Linked DNA regions of Homo sapiens: regions 1, 2 and 4 are each linked to region 3. The links are contacts of gene promoters, found by promoter capture Hi-C in blood cells and fetal thymus (Javierre and others, 2016). All regions are on one chromosome and are shown on one strand. Each heading gives the region's core, a stretch centred on a gene start or on the middle of the fragment in contact. The rest is flanking DNA. Distances are from core to core; before and after follow the strand shown.

Region 1 (3,214 bases), core at 696-3,195, 290 kb before region 3:
TAGTTGGATAAGGGTGCCTGATAAACTTGGGGTGGACTTCCTCAGAACTGGGGGACTGAGGAGACTCCAGGAAAGATGTAGGCCTTCTAGTGGGAACAGCTAGGAGGGAAACCCTTAGGCATGGCTTCCGGGTTCCTGGGAGTAATATGAGCCAATAAAGGACCATAAAAGCCTGTACATAAAGGACCTCCTCCCATTTTCCTTATTTTATATAGAATAAGTCCAATTGTAAAATAGCGTCACAATATATAGAACCAAATCTATATATTAGGCCAAATCTCTTGGTTTTCTAATTTGTTTTGGACCCAAGTGGTGCTACAATAGAAAATGAGTTTCTTTTTCTTTAGGTTGAATTTGAATTTGCTCCAACAGCCTAAAAGACACCCTAGTGGTAAGTCTTCTGGGATGTTCATCATTGTCTCCATGTCTAACAAGGATTTATACTGGACATAGAAGTTTTTCTTTTCTTTTTCTTTTTTCTTTTTTTTTTTTTTTTGAGATGGAGTTTCGCTCTTGTTGCCCAGGCTGTAGTGCAATGGCACAATCTTGGCTCACTGCCACCTCCGTTTCCCGGATTCAAGCAGTTCTCCTGCCTCAGCCTCCTGAGTAGCTGGGATTACAGGCGTGCACCACCACGCCTGGCTAATTTTGTATTTTTTTACTAGAGATGGAATTTCACCATGTTGGTCAGGCTGGTCTCGAACTCCTGACCTCAAGTAATCCACCCGCCTTGGCCTCCCAAAGTGTTGGGATTACAGGCGTGAGCCACTGCGCCTGGCCAGAGGTTTTTCTAAGTCTAGTGAGAGGGAAAACAACTGGGCTCTCATTATTTTTCCCTTTTAGATTCTCACTTCCTGCAGAGGTATAAGCAAGGCATTATGAAAGTGGATTATAGGCATTTTCCAGTGGATGAAGTACGACAAAGAAAGTATTTTTATCAAGCAAAATGTAGAAGGAAAAGTGTAAATGAAGTGACAAGAAAAGAAAATGCTGTTACAGAAAATAACTTTAACTTTAAGGCAGAAAACAAGAAAAGGCAAGACTGAGATTCCCCTAGGGTGGGCCTCTATCCCACAATCCTGAGAGACAGTACCAATACCAAAACCCTTGGAGTGCCCAGGGGGCAGCCAGCAGTGAACCTCAAAGGCCTGGTTGGGGCCACAGAACAACATGACTCTGGTGTCCCAGGGTCAACACAACAGGGGACCTCTCAAAGACAAGTGTTCTGCCTTAAACAACTGCCCAAATAGTTTATCAGGGAACTAAAGCAAAAACTACAAATGAAACATACATTTCAGAGAAAAAATTAAAATAAAATAAAAGGCTGGGCATGGTGGCTCATGCCTGTAATCTTTGCACTTTGGGAGGCTGAGGCAGGTGGATTGCTTGAGCTCAGGAGTTCGAGACCAGCCTGGGCAACATGGTGAAACCCTGTCTCTACCAAAAATACAAAAAATTAACCAAGTGTGGTGGCATGCACCTGTGGTCCCAGCTACTCAGGAGGCTGAGGTGGGAGGATCGCTTGAGCCCAGGAGGTGGAGGTTGCAGTGAGCCAAGATCATGCCACTGCAGTCCAGCTTGGATACAGAGTGAGACTCCATCTCAAACAATGAATACATAAATAAAAAGAAAAAGAAAAATATTTAAAATAAAAAATAAATGAAATGGCAATGGAAAAATGAAAAGATGTTAGGGAAAGGACCGAGAGAAGGAGTGACAAGGACGTAGTTGGTCAGGTATGCCATGGGAGACTTTGAAATGACAATCTAAGATGCCCAAAGCCTTATTTCCTGGCTTACTCAATATCAAGGGGCAGAGGGGACAGTCACCCATCTGCAGGAGCCAAAATGGACTAGTCAGTCTCCAACCTGGGGCCTGGGTTAAGGGCTCCTCCCCAAGTTTCCTCAGCTTGAACAGGCTCAGCTACCATGGGGGGTACTGGCGCACAGGCCAGTGATCTGCTGGTCAGAGTGGTGGGTCCCACACAAGGCAGTGGCTCTGTGGCTGCTCACCTGCCTACTTGGCTCCACTGCCTGCCAGGAAAGGTAATGGCTCTTAAAAGAGCCTTTGGCTAGTCTTACAGCTCTGCAGCTTGTATTGCTGTAGCACCAATCACCATCTCACCTACTCTCATTCATCGCTGTCTTGCTGCCTCTCATTGCCTCTCTCTTATTGCTGCCCCTTCCCTGTCCGCCGCCTTGCCAATCTCTGTCTAGCTGATCGCCATTTCTCACTGTCTCTCATCGTCTCACCTCTCTGCCAATCGTGGATCACCAGTCTCACTGTCAATCACTGTCTCTCACCATCTGTCCACTGATTGCTGCTGTCTCTGCTGTCACATCACTTCTCTGCTGATCGCTGGTCACCACTATCTCACTGCCACTTCACCAGTCACCAATAGCTGTCATCTCTGCTGTCTTTGTCGTCTTTGTGGTCACCAGATGATACAGGACAGGTAAGCCCCAAAACTGGGGCTGAGCTTGGGTGAGTTCTTGGCTTCACCCAGGAAAGAATTCAAGGGTGAGCCAGTGGTGTTAGACAGCAGCAACTTTTACTGAATGGTGCTGCTCCTTGCAGACCATGACTAACTCATTGGCAGTGCACCCAGAGTAAGAAATGTATGGGTTTGGCCAGGCATGGTGGCTCGCATCTGTAATTCCAGCACTTTGGGAGGCCGAGGCAGGCACATCACTTGAGGTCAGGAGTTCCAGACCATCCTGGCCAACATTTTGAAACCTCGTGTCTACTAAAAATACAAAAATTAGCTGGGTGTGGTGGTGAGCGCCTGTAATCCAAGCTACTCGGGAGGCTGAGGCAGTAGAATCACTTAAACCCAGGAGGCAGAAGTTGCAGCGAGCCAAGATGGTGCATTGCACTCCAGCCTGAGCGACAGAGCGAGACTCCGTCTCAAAACAAAACAAAACAAAACAAAAAATGCCAGGCATGGTGGCTCACGCCTGTAATCCCAGCACTTTGGGAGGCTGAGTTGGGTGGATCATGAGGTCAGGAGTTCAAGACCAGCCCGGCCAACATAGTGAAACCCCGTCTCTACTAAAAATACAAAAATTATCCAGGCATGGTGGCGGGTGCCTGTCCCAGATACTTGGGAAGCTGACACAGGAGAATCTCTTGAACCCAGGAGTCGGAGGTTGCAGTGAGCCAAGATCACACCGCTGCACTCCAGCCTGGATGACATGGTGAGACTTTATCTCAA
Region 2 (3,345 bases), core at 9-2,508, 270 kb before region 3:
GCAGGATGGTCTCGATCTCCTGACCTCGTGATCCACCCACCTCGACCTCCCAAAGTGCTGGGATTACAGGCGTGAGCCACCGCGCCCGGCTAGATGTCAACTGTATTCTGTTAACTGGCAGTGCTGTTGAATTCAACTACATCCTTACTGATATTCTGCCTAGCAGATCTGCCTGTTTCTGTAGAGGAGTGCTCTTTTTCAAGATTGTTTTAGCTATTTAGGACCCCTTGCAATTCCATGTGGATTTTAGGATCAGCATTTCCATTTCTTCATAAAAGACCATTGGGACTGTCATAGGGATTGCATTGCGTTTATAGATTACTTTGGGGATTACTGCCATCTTAACAATACTAAGTCTTTCAATCCATGTACATGAATGTCTTTCCATTATTTATGTCTTCTTTATTTCTTTTAGCATGTTTTTTAATTTTTGGTATACAACTCTTGTATTTCCTCAATTAGATTTATTCCCAAGTATTTTATTCTTTTTGCTGCTATTATAAATGTAATTGTTTTTGTAATTTCCTTTTGGAATTGTTCATTGCTAGCATATATTATAGCGATACAATTCATTTTTGCCTATTGATCTTATATCCGAAAACTTTGCCGAGTTCATTTATTAACTCTACTAGTTTTTTGTGGATTCTTTAGGACTTTTTCATAAAAGATCACGTCATCTTTTAAGAGATATTCTTACTTCTTCCTTTCTGATCTATATGCCTTTTATTTATTTTCCTTACCTAATTACTCTGGCCAGAACTTCCAGGACAGTGTTGAGTAAAAGTGTTAAAAGTGGACATCCAGGCCGGACACGGTGGCTCACCCCTGTAATCCCAGCACTTTGGGAGGCCGAGGCAGGTGGATCACGAGGTCAGGAGATCGAGACCATCGTGGCTAACACGGTGAAACCCCGTCTTTACTAAAAATACAAAAAATTATCCAGGTGTGGTGGCGGGCTCCTGTAGTCCCAGCTACTCGGGAGGCTGAGGCAGGAGAATGGTGGGAATCCGGGAGGCGGCTTGCAGTAAGCCGAGATAGCGCCACTGCACTGCAGCCTGGGCGACAGAGCGACACTCCGTCTCAAAAACAAACAAACAAAAACAAAAACAAAAAAGTGGACATCCACTGGGCACGGTGGTTCATGCCTGTAATCCCAGCACTTTGGGAGGCCAAGGTGGGAGGATTGCTTGAGCCCAGGAGTTCTAGACCAGCCTGGGTAACATGGTGAGGCCTCATTTCTTTTTTGTCTTTTTTTTTTTTTTTTTTTGGAGATGGAGTCTCACTCTGTCACCCAGGCTGGAGTGCAGTGGCGTGATCTTGGCTCACTGCAAGCTCTGTCTCCCGGGTTCACGGGCACCACACCCGGCTATTTTTTTGGTATTTTTAGTAGAGACAAGGTTTCACCGTATTAGCCAGGATGGTCTCTATCTCCTGACCTTGTGATCCACCCGCCTCGGCCTCCCAAAGTGCTGGGATTACAGGCATGAGCCATTGCGCCTGGACAGAAGACCTCATTTCTATTAAAAATAAAAAAAAAAAATCAGCCAGGCATGGTGGTGTGTGCCTGTGCCTGTAGTTCCAGCTACTTGAGAGTCTGAGGTAGGAGGATCATTTGAGCCCAGGGAGATCCAGGCTGCAGTGAGTTTTTAATTTAATTTTATTTTTTGAGACAGGATGTTGCTCTGTTGCCCAGGCGACAGAAAGAAAAAAAAAAGACATCCTTGTCTTATTCCTGATCTTAGGCAAAAAGTTCTCAGTCTTTCACCACCGAGTATGAGTTTTTTTTTTTTTTTTTTTGAGACAGAGTCTCGCTCTGTTGCCCAGTCTGGAGTGCAGTGGCTCCATCTCGGCTCACTGCAAGCTCTGCCTCCCGGGTTCACGCCATTCTCCTGCCTCAGCCTCCCAAGTAGCTGGAACTACAGGCGCCCGCCACCACGCCTGGCTAATTGTTTGTGTTTTTTAGTAGAGACGGGGTTTCACCGTGTTAGCCAAGATGGTCTCGATCTCCTGACCTCATGATCCGCCTGACTCAGCCTCCCAAAGTGCTGGGATTACAGGCGTGAGCCATGGCGCCCGGCCGAGATTTTTTTAATAAGTGCCTTTTATCATGTTGAAGAAGCTCTCTTCTATTTCTAATTAGTAAAAATTTTTTATCATGAAAGGGGGTTGGAGTTTATCAAATACTTTTTCTGCATCAGTTGAGATGATCATTGTTTTTTTTTCCTTAAGTTTTAAGAGTTCTTTAGCCCTTGGTCTGTTGTAAATATTTTCTCCCATTTCATCAGTTGTCTTTTTATTCACATGTAGTTGTAAGTACTAATACAGATCTCTTTACCCTTAAACCTGTTTCCCTCAACAATAACATCTTGTAAGACTATGGTATGATATCATAACTAGGATATTGGTATTGATACAGTCAAGATACTGATCATTTCCATGATCACTTCCCTCTCACTCACACCCACTCCTTAACCTCTGGCAATCACTAATCTGTTCTCCACGTCTACGATTTTTGTCATTTTGAGAATGGACTATAAATGGAATCATACAGTTTGTAATATTGTAGAGTTACCTTTTTTTCACTCAACATAATCCCCTGGAGATTCATTCAGGTTGTCATGTGTATCAGTAGTTTGTTCCTTTTTTATTGCTGAGTAGTATTCCATGGTGCAGATGTACCAAAATTTGTTAACCATTCACCCATTGAAGGACATCTGATTTGTTTCCAGTTTTTAGCTATTATGACCAAGGATGCTATGAGCATTCATGTGTGGGTTTTTTGTTAATATGTTTTCATTTCTCTGGGATAAATGCCCAAGAGTGTAATTGGTTGGTTGTATGGTGGTTGCATGTTTAGCTTTATAAAAAACTGCCAAGCTCGGCCAGGCGCCATGGCTCATACCTGTAATCCTAGCACTTTGGGAGGCCAAAGTGGGTGGATCACTTGAGCTCAGGAGTTTGAGTCCAGCCTGGACAACATGGCAAAATCCTGTATCTACTGAAAATACAAAAATTAGCCAGGCATTGTGCTGCATGCCTGTGGCCCAGCTACTTGGAAGGCTGAGGTGGGAGGATCACTTGAGCCTGGGAGGCCGAGGTTGCAGTGAGCTGAGATTGCACCACTGCACTCCAGCCTGGGTGACAGAGTGAGACCCTGACTCTAAAACAAAACAAAAAACCTACAGATCAATTTAGGGAGAATTGAAAATTGCTATGTTACATCTTCAAATACAGGAACACAATATGCCTCTCCATTTATTTAAATCTTTTCTTTCATTAGCACTTTATAATTTTCAATTTTCAGCATATATATCCTACACATATTTTGTTAGGCTTATACCTGAG
Region 3 (3,163 bases), core at 1-2,500:
TGGGTATGGACTTTTTTGGACATCTGGGTGACACGTGAGCGGATTGTGCTGGAGGACCGAGTCATGCTGTGAGCCGAGCCCCGTGGGTGTGCTACGTGATAGGGGAAGACTCCTGTACGAGAAGCAGCAGGGCCGGGGGCATCGTGAATCAGGCTCCGGGATGTGTGTGGGATAGAGAGTTGGGAAGTGCTCTGGACGTAGTCGCCATGGAGGTAACTGGAATGATACGCGCCGTGGTGGTCTTGGTGCTGATGGTAGTCTCGGTGCCGGTGGGTCTGGTGGTAGTGGTGCTGTGTGTGGTGGGGATGGTCGCCATGGTGGTACTCACTGGGGTGGTGATCACCTTGGTGGTACTCGCTGTGATAGTCAGATATCCCACGCTGGTAGGACCCCACAGAGGAATGAGGGGAAATGGTCTCTCCGTGATGAGGAGACTTTCCATGCTGGTGGGCTTCATGATGACGGGACCTGCCATGGTGGTGGACTTGGTGATGGTGGGGCCAGCCACGGTGGGGGACTTGGTGATGCTGGGACTCATCGTGTTGGAGCCCGCTAAGGTGGGAAGCCTCGCTGTGGTGGAAGGACTCACTGTAGGGATTGGGTCCATGGGGGAGGTAGGACCCACCATGGTGGGAAGCCTCACCGTGGTGGGGCACGCCAGAGGAATAGTGGGATAAATTCTCACCGAGATATTGGGGTCTGCCATGGTGAGACCCCCTATGGTAATGGGAGTCACTCTGCTGATGGAACCCACCGTATTGGGACCCATCATGATGCCTCCTGCCATCACGTTGGAGCTCATCATGGTAGTCCTCACCGTAGGAACGGTGGGAGGGGACGGCGCCTTGAGAGGGAGCCAGACCAAAGCCTGTGGGGCCATGGGCTCTGCCGTGATTCCGTGCCTCGCTGTGGTGGTGAGATTGGTGGACATGGGAGGACAAGGCTTGGTCGTGGAAGTCTTGGAACTCCGGAGGGTGGTGAGATTCACCACGTTGGTGGGGCACGCCGTGATGGTGCAACTCGTAATGGTGGAGAGCTCTGCTGTGGCCTGGCCTGTGGTGTGGGGGTGATGAGTGAGAGCGAAAGAACCTATCTGCGTTATTGGTGTCTGCCTCATTCTGAGCCTTTTCAGGCACTGAGTTTTGATCCATGACTGTGCTGGGAACTCTGGAGCCAAAAGAGCTCAAGACCTGGGCCCAACAGGCCCCGCCTGGATTTCCCTTCTTTCCTGAGCCAAGCTCAATGCAGACTGTGGCACTGGGCTTCCAGAAAGGCCTGACTATTCTCGTGGAACTCTCCCCTCTATGATGTCACCAGCAGGCCAGGGCCTCATTCCCAAATGCCTCTTCCTGGGCTATAGTTCGGAATCAAGAATTATTGTGTCAAACTCCTTCATTGTAAATGAGGAAACCGAGGTCAAGAAAAGGGAAGGACTAGACCAAGGTGACCTCACAGGTCACTGGCAAAGCTGGACAAAGAAGTCCATGGGGGCGCCATGGCTTCATCAGCTACTTTAGCCCTGTTGTTGGAAAGAAAATGGTCCAAGTGGTCCAGTCTTCAGTCCCATCTAGAGATCAGCTGGCTCTGGGGTGAAGACTGCCTGACTCCCTCATAAGTAGGTGTGTGACCTTGGGCTTGTTGCTGAACTTTCCCGTGCCTCAGTTTCTTCCTCTGTAAAATGGGAATAATAATACCTAGCCCACAGGATCAAAAAAGTTAAGATATGTAAGCCTTATATTAACAGCATAATACATGGTTTTTGTTGTTGTTGTTGTTGTTTGTTTCTTTGTTTGTTTTTGAGATGGAGTCTCGCTCTGTCGCCCAGGCTGGAGTGCAGTGGCACGATCTTGACTCACTGCAACCTCCACCTCCCAGCTTCATGCCATTTTCCTGCCTCAGCCTCCCAAGTAGCTGGGACTACAGGCGCCCACCACCACGCCCGGCTAACTTTTTCTATTTTTAGTAGAGACGGGGTTTCACCATGTTAGCCAGAATGGTCTTGATCTCCTGACCTCGTGATCCGCCTGCCTTGCCCTTCCAAAGTGTTGGGATTACAGGTGTGAGCCACTGCGCCCAGCCCATGTTTTTTTGTTTTTGTTTTTGTTTTTTGAGACAGTCTCACTGTCACCCAGGCTGGAGTGCAGCGGCATGATCTCCACTCATGGCAATCTCTGCCTCCCAGGTTCAAGTGAGCCTCCTGCCTTAGCCCCCTGAGTAGCTGGGATTACAGCCACCCACCACCATACCCCACCCCGGCTAATTTTTTTTTTTTTTTTTTTGAGACAGAGTCTTACTCTGTCACTAGGCTGGAGTGCCGGGGTGCAATCTTGGCTCACTGCAATCTCTGCCTCCTGGGTTCAGGCAATTCTCCTGCCTCAGCTTTCCTAGTAGCTGCGACTACAGGTGCACACCACACCCAGCTAATTTTTGTATTTTTAGTAGAGACGGGGTTTCACCATGTTGACGAGGCTGCTCTTGAACTCCTGACCTCAAATGATCCACCCACCTCGCACTCCCTAAGTGCTGGGATTTCAGGTGTGAGCCACCATGCCTGGCCAATACATGTTAATTGGCATTATTATTCTCTTCTTGATCTTGGAACCCCCCTTTAGGGTTATTACCAAAATTAAACTATCAGCCATCATTTATTGAGGATTGCTTCATACACATTTTGTTTTCTTTCTTTCTTTTTTTTTTTTTGAGACACAGTCTTGCTCTGTCACCTAGGGTGGAGTGCAGTGGCATGGTCTCAGCTCACAGCAACCTCCACCTCCTGAATTCAAGCAATTCTCCTGCCTCAGTCTCCCAAGTAGCTGAAAGTACAGGCGTGCACCACTACGCCCAGCTAACTTCTTTTGTATTTTAGTAGAGATGGGGTTTCACCCTGTTGGTCAGGCTGGTCTCGAACTCCTGATCTCAAACGATCTGCCCGCCTCGACAACCCAAAGTGCTGGGATTACAGGCATGCGCCACCGTGCCCGGCCCATACACATTAAATTTAATCCTCACAATAGCCCCACATGGTAGATATTGTTTATCCCCATTTGACAGACAAAGGTGCTATGGCTCAGAGAATATAAATGAGTTGCTTGATGAATGAAAACTTACCGTCAGTGCTATCTCACTCCAAGTCTGTATCTGTAACCTTCATGCTGTCCTGTCT
Region 4 (3,181 bases), core at 640-3,139, 420 kb before region 3:
CTTAAAATGCAAATCCCTGGGCCAGGCGCGGTGGCTCACATCTGCAATCCCAGCACTTTGGGAGGCCCAGGTGGGATGATCACGAGGTCAGGAGATCGAGACCATCCTGGCTAACACGGTGAAACCCTGTCTCTACTAAAAACACAAAAAATTAGCCAGGCGTGGTGGTGGGCGCCTGTAGTCCCAGATACTCAAGAGGCTGAGGCAGGAGAATGGCATGAACCCAGGAGGCGGAGCTTGCAGTGAGCCAAAATCACACCACTGCACTCCAGCCTGGGCAACAGAGCGAGACTCCGTCTCAAAAAAAAAAAAAAGCAAATTCTTGTTTGATGAAGAATCCATTTTTATAATCCTTGCACCAACCACGAGGTTATCATATCACCCCCACTTCGCAGGTGAAGAACTGATCATTTACAGTGAGTTTAAACAGAAGAGGGGAAATCATGTTTAAAAAAAAGAAAGAGTTGGCCGGGTGCGGTGGCTCACACCTGTAATCCCAGCACTTTGGGAGGCCAAGGTGGGCGGATCACGAGGTCAAGAAATCGAGACCATCCTGGCCAACATGGTGAAACCCTGTCTCTACTAAAAAATACAAAAATTAGCAGGGCATGGTGGCACGCACCTGTAGTCTCAGCTACTTGGGAGGCTGAGGCAGGAGAATCGCTTGAACCCAGGAGGCGGAGGTTACAGTGAGCCGAGATCCCGCCACTGCGCTCCAGCCTGGGTGACAGAGTGAGACTCCATCTCAAAAAAAAAAAAAAAAAAAGCAAGAGAGGCTGGGAGTGGTGGCTCAAGCCTATAATCCCAGCACTTTGGGAGGCCAAGTAGGGCAGATCACTTGAGGTCAGGAGTGCATGACTAGCCTGGCCAACATGGTCAAACCCTGTCTCTACTAAATACAAAAATTAGGCCGGGCATGGTGGTTCACGCTTGTAATCCCAGCACTTTGGGAAGCTGAAGCAGGTGGCTCACTTGAGGTCAGGAGTTCGGGACCAGCCTGGTCAACATGGTGAAACCTCATCTCTACTACAAATACAAACATTAGCCGGGCATTGTGGCACATGCCTGTAATCCCTGCTACTTGGGAGGCTGAGGCAGGAGAATCACTTGAACCTGGGAGGTGGAGGTTGTAGTGAGCCGAGATTGCACCACTGCCCTCCAGCCTGGGCAACAGAATGACACTTCATCTCAAAAAAAAAAAAATTAGCTGGGCATGGTGGCACATGCCTGTAATCCCAGCTACTGGGGAGGCTGAGGGAGAATTGCTTGAACGTGGGAGGTGGAGGCTGAAGTGAGCTGAGGTCGCACCACTGCACTCCAGCCTGGGTGACAGAACAAGACTCCTTCTAAAAAAAAAAAAAGAAAATAGCAAGAGCAAGCTGGGTGTGGTGGCTCACACCTGTAATGCCAGCACTTTGGGAGGCTGGGGTGGGTGGACTACTTAAGCGCAGCCCAGCCTGGGCAACATGGCAAAACCCCATCTCTACAAAAAATATAAAAATTAGCCAAGCATGGCATGCACCTGTAGTCCCTGCTACTCAGGAAGCTGAGGTGGGAGGATCACTTGAGCCTGGGAGGCAGAGTTTGCAGTGAGCCATGATCATGCCATTGCAGTCCAGCCTGGGTAACAGAATGAGACTCTATCTTTAAAAAAATAAAAGACAGAAATGAGACAAAGGGAAGAGAAGATAGGGTCCAGCAGACAAAATGAGAGTGAACAGAAGTTCCTGCAGTCAATGGCCTGAGAAACTGAGGTTCTGAAGGGTAAGGGACTTGGTCAACATAATCCAGCTAGGATTTGAATCTGCCTCTAAGCTTCCTGGCAGCAAGAGTTAGCAACTCTGTTGTTTAGGAGAAAGCTGCGTGACTATTCTTGACCCAAAGATAGATAGATAGAGGCGAAACTGCTTCCGTGAGGTCTCACAGGGAGGACACAGCCACGTAGTTATTGGCTCTAAGGCAACAAGCTTCACAGGGCAGTTGCTATCAGCGTAGCTGAGTGCACCCTGCCAATGTGCCACTCCTTGCAGCCAGCTCTCCAGGGACCAGAACAGCCCACTGGGGACAGGGTGAGGGTGTGTGTGACTCTCCAGTGGTATGGCTTATGCCGGGGACCATCTCACAGGGTCTGGGACCTCTGTGAAGCCCCATTATTTGATTCTTAGCTGGGTTTCGGGGGGTGGCTGTGAGGTCAATGTCATGTACTTTCATGGACCCAGATGATGCGTGGAGTGTGGGATTGGGCTAGGGGAACCAGATGCTCAGCCAGCCACTGAGCTGGGCAGCTGACATCCTTTCAGGGCAAGTGGCAATCCATTTCTTCATCAGCCAGGAAGGGCACTGGTGTTGAGGCCGACATACTTATCAAGAACAGTAACTACCATGGTTTCCAGTGCTTTCATGAAACCTCAGACATGTGGCCTTCTGGCCACACATCTGCAATTTCATATTGTGGGAGCATTCACTGTATCCCTGGGGGCTGCGGCTCTCTCAGTTTGCAGGGGCTGGACCAAGAAAGAAGGCATTTCAGATTTCTATGGGCACAGATGTCTACAGAAGTTATGATGCCATGAAATACTTCGAGGAGATGAGGAAGGCTGCTATCTCTCAGAATGCAAAGTGATTTTGGAATATGAAGAATTTCTTTGGGTTGAATTACTTAGAAGTTTGTCACTGATCTGAACTATTCATGAATATATGGGCTAATAAGTAGTTTCTCTTCATAAATAATTAACAAATTCTTTGGATAAAAAAACATGGGGCAAGCTTGAGAACGATGGGGCCCAGGCCCCTTGTGCCCCTGCTTCTGGGAGCTGAGGGCCAGAGAGTTCTGTGGAACAGTCAGGACCTGCTTCAGCCTACACACCTGGGTTGACAGGCTCTCAAGTTCTCCTTTGGCCCATCTGGCCTGGTACAATTTAGAGCAAGTGAATTCAAGAAGCCTCCTTGGCCTTCCAGCTCTCAGTTCAGTCCCTGCAGGACAGATGCTGGGGGCAGTGCAGCTGCTGGAGTAGCAAATGGCGGGGCAGATGGAGGCCCAGGGCTCTGCCTCTGTGGTCAGACAGGCAAGAGCAGATCAAATCCCTGCTCTACTGGTTGCCTTACATCAAACCACTTAATCTCTCTGTGCCTCAGTTTTCTCTGTTGTAAAATGCAGGCCAATACTACTACTCCCCTCACA

Evidence for each region. Contacts are between HindIII fragments. The CHiCAGO score rates a contact against its expected background, and 5 or more counts as called.
Region 1: a contact is called between a fragment that was not itself captured here and the fragment with the promoter of CATSPER1 in region 3, in 1 of 17 cell types (naive CD4 T cells). The highest score is 5.3, in naive CD4 T cells.
Region 2: a contact is called between a fragment that was not itself captured here and the fragment with the promoter of CATSPER1 in region 3, in 1 of 17 cell types (naive CD8 T cells). The highest score is 5.9, in naive CD8 T cells.
Region 4: a contact is called between a fragment that was not itself captured here and the fragment with the promoter of CATSPER1 in region 3, in 2 of 17 cell types (total B cells and naive B cells). The highest score is 5.7, in total B cells.

Annotation. Positions count from the first base shown.
Region 1 is chr11:65,739,091-65,742,304 of GRCh38, forward strand. No RefSeq gene overlaps it. Among named protein-coding and RNA genes, the nearest start is that of RNASEH2C, 20 kb to the left of the region's middle. The HindIII fragment of the contact is 8,139 bases long and covers 1-3,214 here.
Region 2 is chr11:65,756,969-65,760,313 of GRCh38, forward strand. No RefSeq gene overlaps it. Among named protein-coding and RNA genes, the nearest start is that of AP5B1, 22 kb to the right of the region's middle. The HindIII fragment of the contact is 6,177 bases long and covers 1-3,345 here.
Region 3 is chr11:66,025,229-66,028,391 of GRCh38, forward strand. It overlaps CATSPER1 (cation channel sperm associated 1), which reads right to left and starts at 1,251. Exons shown (of 12, transcript NM_053054.4): 1 at 1-1,251. The coding sequence starts at 1,151. The HindIII fragment of the contact is 12,999 bases long and covers 1-3,163 here.
Region 4 is chr11:65,601,456-65,604,636 of GRCh38, forward strand. All of the region lies in intron 8 of MAP3K11 (mitogen-activated protein kinase kinase kinase 11), which reads right to left. Among named protein-coding and RNA genes, the nearest start is that of KCNK7, 7.2 kb to the left of the region's middle. The HindIII fragment of the contact is 152 bases long and covers 1,814-1,965 here.